Linked DNA regions of Homo sapiens: region 2 is linked to region 1. Evidence: promoter capture Hi-C in human tissues and cell types (Jung and others, 2019). All regions are on one chromosome and are shown on one strand. The core of a region is centred on a gene start or on the middle of the fragment in contact, and the rest is flanking DNA. Distances in the headings are between cores, read along the strand shown. Region 1 holds the start of XKR3 (XK related 3). Region 2 has its middle 77 kb from the start of GAB4.

Region 1 (4,916 bases), core at 1,188-3,687:
CCAGGACTCAAATGATCCTCCTGCCTTAGCCTCCCAAGTAGCTGGGACCACAGGTGCATGCCACCATGTACACTAATTTTTGTGTTTTTTGAGGAGATGGGGTTTGACCATCTTCCTGGTCTCAAACTCATGAGCTAAAGTGATCCACCTGCCTCAGCCTTCCAGTGTTGGGATTACAAGCATGAGCTACCACACTGCCAGAATCCTGTCATTTCCTTGAATTGCAAAATTAAAACCTCATAAGCTACAGTTTCCACATCTGTACAATGATAACATCATTAGAATCTTCCTGGGGAGATAGCAGTGTAGAGAAAATAATACATCGGCAGCAGGAAGAAGAGTTCGTGGTACACAGTGAAGTTTGGAAAGGTGTTCCTATTGACATCATTATAATCATGACCACCATCATCATTTCTTAGAAACACAGAATTGACAGGACTCACTGATTAAGAGTATTTGACAGTGAAATATGAGAGAAGAGATTGCCTTGGTCAATTCTTGAGTATCCATCTGGTAGAGCTTGGAAAAGTGGTGGAAGCAGAATTTTTGGGAAAAACATTTAAAATAAACTTAAACACCTTACTTTTGATCTGCGTGATGTACAGAACTGGTGATGAACAGGGCAACCTTGTCACTTTAAAATATATCTGATTGCCAATTTGCAGCATCACAAGACTAGTAAACATTTACTGTGAAACATTCAGAAAATACAAATTACCAAAAGAATAGAGTTTACCTATTGCTTAGTTTTCTCCAGCAATGGAGAGATCAATAATAATAAATCTGACACCAATTCAAAATATGAAACTTTAGGGTACTCAAGTACTAAAAGGTTTTTTTTTTTTAATGTAAACAAACTCACAGGTAACAGTGTCCAAAGTAGAACATTAGAAATGAGAGATTCTTGATGTAACAACAGGTCCAGGTGATGATAATTCAAGGCTGCTGAAACAAGTGAATGAAATCTTGAAGGGATCTTAATGATGAGAACTAATTCTTGCTTGTTGGAGTGATGAGACAAATGGTCCAAAAATTAAAAAACAAAACAAAACAACAACAACAACAAAATAATTTGTTGCTTGCAAATAGGCCCTAGAAGCAATATGAAACAGTCTTCAAATGAATAGATGAGAAAAATCGCATCTGACCTAATTAATTCAATGTCACAAAAAGAGAGACAATGTGTTATTTAAAGGGATGAGACAGAAAAAACACTCTTGTAAATAAAGAGAGAAGAGTACAATGAAGTACCCATTTCCACCTACGAGGAACGGGCATGTAAGAAAATACGGGAATCATGTGCAGATGATATAATTACTTATCTAGAGGCACCATAAAAATGTTTTTCCCCAAATAATGTCCATTAGGGATAAAATTTTAAGAAAGAAAGGATGTTACTTTTAAAGACAATTGTTAAATACCTAGTAAATAGAGTAAGTGAGTAAGAAAAGCAGAAAGAAAATAAGTTGCAGCTACCAGATACCCACAAAAAGAAAGAAAAGGGAAAAAGAAGGAATGGAGGGAGAGAGCACAAATGGAAAGAAAAAGGGTGGGAAGGAGGAGGGAGAGTAGAGAGAGAAATTACAGAAGTAGGCGAGGGGTATAAAGGAAAGCATGGAAAGACAACTGCAGAGACATCAGAGTTTCTGGGCCTCAGGATAGGGGAAAAATACATCCAACATTATAAGAAATATATCCCACTCTCTCCCCAGCAATCCATACATCGAATATGATATTAATGCAGATTGCACCTTTCTGGCTGCCCCAACCACTTCCTTCTCCTTTGGACTCACAGAAGGACCTCTATAATTTATTTCTGGAAAACACTTATGAAAATATGCACATATGAAAAGGGCCACAGAGTTTAGAAATGGGTCTTCCAGAGTCTAAAATTCAAGGTAGAAAGTGAAAGTGAAGTCACTGAACAATGGAATTTAGGCATGTGTTTGTGATTAAGTGAACTTGTTTCTTGTACTCACATAGCCAGTGCATCACTGCATCTGAATAACAAAAAATATGGTAGATTTCTGCCCCTTTGAGATTTCACTTAAATACGAAGCACTTTCTCCTTCTGATGTTTAAAAACATGCTGAAATTTGTAATATATTAGTAACAACCACTGTCCCACCCAAATGCTAAGCAGCTGCTTCTCTTCTCTGAAAATCAGAATCAAGAGAGGGAGTTTCTAGGCTCAAGACTCGGGAAAAGCCACCCCTGATATCCAGAGATTTATGTTAAGATCCCCAGCTGAGACAGGCAGAGGTCAAGGTAGGCTGAAGAAGCTGATCTGAGATGGTCGAGGGCTGCTCCTACTTACCTTGCCTATTTGCCACCCTCACAGTTTTGAAACTCGTTCAAAAAGTAAATGCTTTTGTTCACCTCTTTAACAGCACCATTTCTGGTCTCGTTTTCAACACTACGTCCTTTGCTTTGCAGGTAAAATTGCTTATTTTCTTGCCTTTTTATGACTAAAGTAGGCTTGCAGTTTGGAGTCAGGTGACTGCACTAGCTGAGTCATCTTCCCTTGAAAACACCAAGGCATTCTTCCTCCCTACAGAGTCACACATCTTAGTTCCCCAAAACGCTCAGCCACAATTTGACTTCGATTGTCCTACATTTAAGGTGATATTTTTCTGATTCTCCCATTAACTCCCTCTTCTCTTCGCACCCATGGCCCATCTTTTGCTGCTGTCTAGTAGCCATTCATCCCCTCCCATCACAAAAGAAGTCTGTACTTCCTTCAGACAGAGCAACAAGAAAATTCCCCAGAAAGCAAACAATTAAACAAATTTTAATTTTGCCTTTTTTAAATGAAAATTCTGTCAAAATTGATGAACCACATCTGGTAGGAGCACCTGTTTTATTTTCACAAAGAGTTTTCTGATCTGGACATTTTTGTTACTTACTGCTAATATGGAAAATTTTGAACTAAACAAAATACACCCCCAAAACTTAAACTATGTTAAACCAAGACAAGCTTCTAACAATGACACCTCTTTCCAGTATGAGAGAACTGCCTCCTACAGTATAAGAAATATCAAAATCATTATTTTTTTATTCCACACATATTCAACACTTAAAGCCAAGGCATTAGAATTTTAATATACCACCTCTCAAGCATGAACATATAAAAATTCTTACTGTAAATGGGGCATGATTATTTTTCAAAGAGAAGAAATATTTTATTCAATTCTAAGATTAATTCACAAATTTGACTCCTGTTTTATAATGATAACTTTACGTTGCAGGACACAGAGATTATTCCTTAAGAAATATTTTTTAAATAGATATTTGGCTCTTGGAACCAAATAATAAAATTTTCTGCTTAGACATACATACAAATTTACTTTACTTAAAACACTTTCTTGTTATTATTACATTTTTAAATCTCCCACTCTTTGGGATCTCCTTATAAGTAGGTCACTTGCTTTTAAAATCTTACATAATTAACATGTCAGATATTTACAGACATACCAAATGAAAGTATTATTTATTCTATGATATGAATAAAAAATGTTTTGAATAGATACATACATGAATAACTTTTTATTCTGAAATCTAATCAGTTTTATTCATATTTGATTTTATTTTAATTTTTTAAGGTATGTTTCACATAATACAAAATTACATTATTCAAAATTATATTATTAAAACATTTCTATCATCAAACAGGAAACCCCATTATCTACTTAACAGTTCTTTCTATTCCCCAGCCCCTGACAACCATTAACCTACCTTTTGTCTATATGGCCATGTCTTTTTACCATATATGTTTTACACTGCATCAGTTTTCAATCCAACATGCCAAGCTGAGAGAGTTTTTAAAATATTTATTTTTATTTTTTTGCACCGTCCAATTACCAGGCCCTATGCTCCTCGCACCAATCTAGTAAGACTGTGTGTGTCAAGGAGAAAATTATGTTTATTTCAGGGATTGAGGATATTAATTAATTTATTTATTTATTTATTTATTTATTTATTTATTATTTTCTTAAGACAGAGTCTTGCTCTGTTGCCCAGGCTGGAGTGCAGTGGCACAATCTCAGCTCACTGCAGCTTCCGCCTCCTGGGTTCAAACGATTCTTCTGCCTCAGCCTCCCGAGACCTGGGACTACAGGCACATGGACCACACCTGGCTAATTTTTGTATTTTTAGTAGAGACAGGGTGTCACCATGGTGGTCAGGCTGGTCTCGAACTCATGACCTCATGATCCGCCTGTCCCGGCCTCCCAAAGCGCTGGGATTGCAGGCATGAGCCACCATGCCTGGCCCTCCTTATTAATTTAAAAGATTCTGCAGGCATGAAACTTTTGCAGAATAAACTGTGTAAGTAATCATTCTATATTTTATTTTTACCAGATACATTTCTGAGACTGGAAAGTAAACAGTCTTGGCCAAATTTTTATGTTTGTTGCTAGGTGACCAAAGTCCTCTTGTGATGCCATTGCTACTCAGGTTGGAAACCACTGTGGTGATCTCAATTACTTTACCTGAGTAGACTACTGAAGCAGCATTTGAAGCTGCAGTCTTGAAACACATGCAGGCTGGAAAAGTCGCTAAAGAATTACTTATTTGAGATGGCACATGTTTCTGCAGAAACTCAAGATGTTTCTCCTAAAGATGAATCAACTGGTTCAAAAGCCTCCTCTGGGTCTCCATTGTGTGAACACATAATCCCTGGGGATTCAGACTTAAGGTCAATGACTGAATCAATGATTTTCAGGTTTTGCCACAAGGATCCTTGATAAAAAGGCCACATTATACTTTATGTCTCTGAGCCAGATAAAGATAATGATTTTCCTTCTCTGACCTTTCCCAGTAAACTTTGGAAAATAGCTGAAAGTGACCAATTCAAGTCTAATTCATAGGATAAGAATGAAACTTGCATAGTGACTAATGAAGAACTCTTCAAGAAA
Region 2 (4,916 bases), core at 786-3,285, 110 kb after region 1:
GAAGGTGTTAAGAGACAAAACCATGTGCTCAAATTGTTGCACAGGGACCACTCCACTCTCTAGCAGCACTTCTGGGGCCTCTCACAGAGTGTCCCATCCAGGTAGCCCTGCAGAATCCCCGTCTTGTCACACTCCTCACTGACTTCTGTGAGTCAGATTTTCTGAGTAGAATCCTGGCTTACAATTTGGATGTAATGCGCCCCTTGGAGGCATTTCATGACCTCTCCCTGCCTCAGTATTGTCAGCTGAAGATGAGAATAAAACATACTTGTCATAAAAAGAGTTAGTTCAGTTCACGACACATAAAAACCATTCAGCTGACGGCAGCTGCATGAGAAAGCCCAGGCCAGGCAGCAGAAAAACCTCCCAACCAACCCATAGAATCACAACAAATAATAAATTGTTGTTTCACTCCTTTAAGTTTTGGAGTGCTCTTATATGCTGCAAGAAAATGGAAAAATTAATATATCAATCCAGGTAAAGCACCTGTCTAGGAAACACCTTAGCTTCACAACCCTTTGCCTCTCCCTCTTTGTAGATCAGGTGTAAACTTGAAGTAATAACTCTTCAATCTTCCCCTGTATCAACAGGCCAGAAATCACAGACTCTGAGAACAAAGACAACTATAATATGAACGCTTCACACTCTCAGATTATGGCTTCTGCAGGAAGCAAGTGTCTTTGCATCAGGGCAGAATCTTCCATCCAGAAAGGGTATTTTTGGTTGGGGACTTTTCACTGTAAGAAGCCAACTGAAGGGCTGCTGGCAGGAAAACACTCCAGCATCTTCAGCTTTCACTCCATGGATGGAGAGGGAGAAGCAAAAACCAGAAACTTCCCTGGAAACTGGAAGCGGTTCCAGCAGCCTGGGAAGAAGCCCCAAAGAGCAGCAGACTGGAAGCCTCCTGGGATCTCTGCTTGTCCTAGGTGATGGAGGTGCCTACATCTGTGCTGTTTCTGCAGGTGATAGAGACAAAGTCACCTCCAGATGCTGCTAAGGTCTCCGGAGATGGAGTTGAGATAGTCTGTCCCCTGCATCCTGCAAGGACACCCTATTCAGGAGCACAATGCATTACTTCTCTCAAAGGATTTCTAGAAACCTGTCCTGTTCCTTAGAAGACCCTGTCATGCTTAAACATGACAGAAATTAGTACTCCTGGGCCCTCACATCTTTGCATTTGATCAGAATCAAGATAGAATTGGCTGGGGAGGGGTTCTCAGGACAAGGGCACCTATGAAAGGGGATACAAGCATGGTAGAGCCCACCCTGAGGGGCTAATGGTCAGGTCCATTCTTCACAGCCTGACCAGAACCACAGTGAGCTCTGAAGAGAGGTGGACATGGGGTGTGAGCAGGGACAGAGGATCCATGGTCCTCAGGGAGGCTGGGAACAGGTTCAGGGCTGTATGCACCTCTGCCTCCTGGTTAGCCCTGGACTCTGTGCCTCAGTTTCCTAATGAGAGTTAAGGCAAATCACTTCTATATGTTACACTATAATTTCCAAAGCACATTTGAGCTCATTATCCCCATGTCAAGGGCTAAAGCCCCTGCATGGTCTGCAGTGGGAAATGCACTCACCCTGAAAGCCCATCACCAAGAGGCAGAGGAGCAGGGCCAGGAAGAGCATCTTGGAGTGTCCAGGGAACCTGCTGCTTCTAGACCTAAGGGCAAGGGGAGTGTGGATGGGCAGGTCATTCCTGTCATGGCTCTGTATAAACAGGTTGCACATCCCAAGATTTAAATAAGCACAGATTTCCTTGGAGTCAAGGCCTGATGACCTTAAGCAGAGCCCCTCTCCAGGAGTCTCCCAGGGCAGGCAGGCTCACTCCACCTGTGGCTGCCAGGAAGTGGTGGGGGTGACGTAGATGCCTCGGGTCCCATGGTGGCTGAGGCTGGACTGAGCAGGGCCAGTGATGCTGCCCCATTCCCAGGGTTCCACTCCAGAGGCTGGGACAGGGGTCACCCCAGAGCCAGCCAGATGTCTGCAGAGAGGCCTCTGGATGTTCTATTTTTATGCCACTAAATGTTTGGCAATTTGTTACAGCAGCCCTAGAAAAATAACACAAAAAGTGCTCAGGGAAAATCCAGACTAAAGATGCAATGGCCATTTCCGATCTTCTTGTTTAACTATCAACTCTATACATAAATGGATTGGTGGGGAATTTTATGGTAGAAAAACTTGGCAAATGTGATGAAGGATCTTGAGAACTGAATACTATCTTGGAGTATTTTTGGACCCCATGTAATCATAATTGTCTGCATAAGAGGGAGGAAGGAGGGTCAGATTTGGAGAGGAGATGTGACTATGAAGAAGCTGAGTGATGTGAGGGAAAGGCCATGGCCAAGGAAAGACAGCAGCCTCTAGAAGATGGAAAAGGCAAGAAAACAAACTCTTTCCCACAGGGAAGCTTGATTTTAGCCCAAAGACACCTGTGTGAGATTTCTCTCTTCCAGAATTGTGAAAGAATGATTCTATGCTATTTGAAGCCAGTAATGACATAGTGATTTGTTACAGCTGCTATAGGAAACTCACACAAGGTGAAAGAATGGCATTTGCCTCTCTGAGAAGATGTTTCTCTCTGATCTCTCAGCCTTTTCCAACTTGTTAGCCTTTGGTTTCAATTTGGACAAGAGACAGAGCACAGTTTACTATAAGGAGAGCTAGCACCAGAATTCCACGTAGGGAGAAAATCTCCTGGGTAAACCCCTAGATTGAGTTTTGTACACTGCAGGTGTCTGAGAGCCTAGGGGTCAGATCTCATTACTCCTGAGGAGGGTGGGATTTCCTAGTAGGAGGACAAATTAGATTTGCAGGACACAATCTAATTAGGAAGAAAGAGGGAAGGCTGGAGTCAGAGATGGAAACTAATGGAAGAGAGGAGGAAGGCTCAGGGCAAGGAAAGATGTGACCCTTCCCCCAAGTCTGAAATAAAGCTGTTCAGAGATTTAAAGTCTTTGAGAAAGTTGCATTTTTGCAGAAGAAACTGCAGAAGGGGCTGATTTTAAGTTCCTTTTGCCATATAAGGCTAATTTTATGGTTCCAGAGGGTAGAAGGTGAACATCTTTTCATGGGGGGATAGTAATTTACTCAGACTACCAAACCCCCTAATTGTCTGCCAGCTGCCTTCCTTAAAGAAGAATCCAAAGCCTCACGGCTGGGAGAAGGGAGAACAGGGAGCAGCCAGCAGCTTTATAAAGCAAGAGAGCTGAAGGGATCTGAGTCAGGGCCCTCTGGTCTGGGTGTTTCCTGGGCTGGAAGATTCTTCTCCTGCTGCTCTAATGTGGACCTCATAGTGTGGAGCTATTTGTTAGGGGCTCCTCTGATGTTGTGACCCAGAAGAAAGGAATTGCTATTTAATCAGAATCTATGAGAGACTGATAAAACAAATTAAATGTTTTAGACATTTTCTAAATTTCTCTATCCATTATAAGAGGAGAAGTATCAACAATTTGATGACACCTCCACTAATGAGGATTTGCCTATAGTCTTAGGTTGGGTTTCTAACGACAAGGATTCCCATGTGAGCACCATAATTACAAGCTGCAGGAAACCCTGAGACTGAAGGCAGAAAGTGAGGCAGGGAAGAGATGATGGACAGTGAAAGGCCTGTCAGCCAGCAGCTACCCATGAGGACCACAAGAGCTGAAGCCCACATGGAAACATAAGAGAATGCCTCTGGGCTATTCCACCTGAGAGGTGAGGGAGTTGGGGTATTTATACACGTCACCTGTTCTCACTGATTGAGGGCTGTTCTAGGTGATGCACATTTCAGGCCCTGAGATCTGCCACATGTGCAAGCAGAGCTGCTTCCCCAGCTTCAGAGACAGCAGGGAGGCACAGACATGGCCATGAGGGGTCAGCAGAAGTACAGTGAATGAAAAAGGCTGCGGGAAAAGTCAAAGAGGGCAACGTCCATAAAGAAAAGGTGTGGTTGTTAAATCTGGATCATCTGCATGTGCTAGTTCCCTCTGGAATAAGATGCTGGCTGTTCACTTGTAAGCAAATGCTACAGAATTCAGGCAGGCCCTCCAAGCAGAGCATCAGCAGCCCTGAACCTGGGCTTCCCAGAAATGTCTGAAGACCACACGATTGGCAATTACACCTTCTGTGGAAGATGCACTCTGGATTCTTGAGGAGATCCAAATAATCTTTCTCTTGTAGTATTTGCATCTTTGACTACTATGCCCCCAAGCCTTTTAAAAGCTGTTGTTTAGACTCTCATTCCCTATATTTAGAAAAATAATCCTACTTGGAATTTCAAGAGTGGCTTATTCTTTGAGATATTAATTACAACTGACACCATAACTCAGACTCCTCAGGTGTAATAATCACTTCTTAATGAAATCAGGAGAGACATTGCCATGTCTGTGCTACTGGGGATGAGGAGAAGGAAAGACTGTTAAGGTATACAGGAGACTTCATAGACCCTTCTACCAAAACTTTCCAATGACCTTCAAAGTTTGACTGCAATTTGAGAATTGCTCTCAGCAGATGAGGGCACCAGGAGGAGCAGCAGGGGCAGCCCAGCCTCACACATCTGCTTCCCTGTGTGGTTTATGTTATCACTTGCAACACAGTAGGAGGGTAACTGTAATGCTGTTGATAGTAATAAGTGGCCAAATCATCACGCTGCAGGCTGCAGGCTGCTGATGGTGAGAGTGAAATCTGTCCCAGATTGACTGCTACTGAACCAGGATGGGACCCCCGTCTGCAGTTTTGTTGCAGCATGAATTAGGAGAGTAGGGGCTTTCCCTGGTTTCTGCTGATACCAGACTAATTTATTACTAATGCTGTGACTCACCTGGCAAGTGATAGTGACTCTGTCTCCTACAGATGCAGACAGGGAGGATGGAGACTGGGTCATCTGGATATCACGTCTGGTACCTGAGGTTGGAAACATAAAAACAAACATCTAC

What was found. The method cuts DNA at HindIII sites, captures the fragments that hold promoters and counts their contacts. A contact is called where the count stands out against the background at its distance.
Region 2: a fragment that was not itself captured here is called in contact with the fragment with the promoter of XKR3 in region 1 in 2 of the 25 tissues and cell types used here (H1 embryonic stem cells and spleen).

The regions. Positions count from the first base shown.
Region 1 is chr22:16,822,974-16,827,889 of GRCh38, forward strand. XKR3 (XK related 3) reads right to left here and starts at 2,438. Exons shown (of 4, transcript NM_001386955.1): 1 at 2,318-2,438. It also overlaps the pseudogene HSFY1P1. The HindIII fragment of the contact is 14,808 bases long and covers 1-4,916 here.
Region 2 is chr22:16,928,942-16,933,857 of GRCh38, forward strand. It overlaps the pseudogene IGKV1OR22-1. Among named protein-coding and RNA genes, the nearest start is that of GAB4, 77 kb to the right of the region's middle. RefSeq lists an enhancer at 4,011-4,916. The HindIII fragment of the contact is 8,642 bases long and covers 1-4,916 here.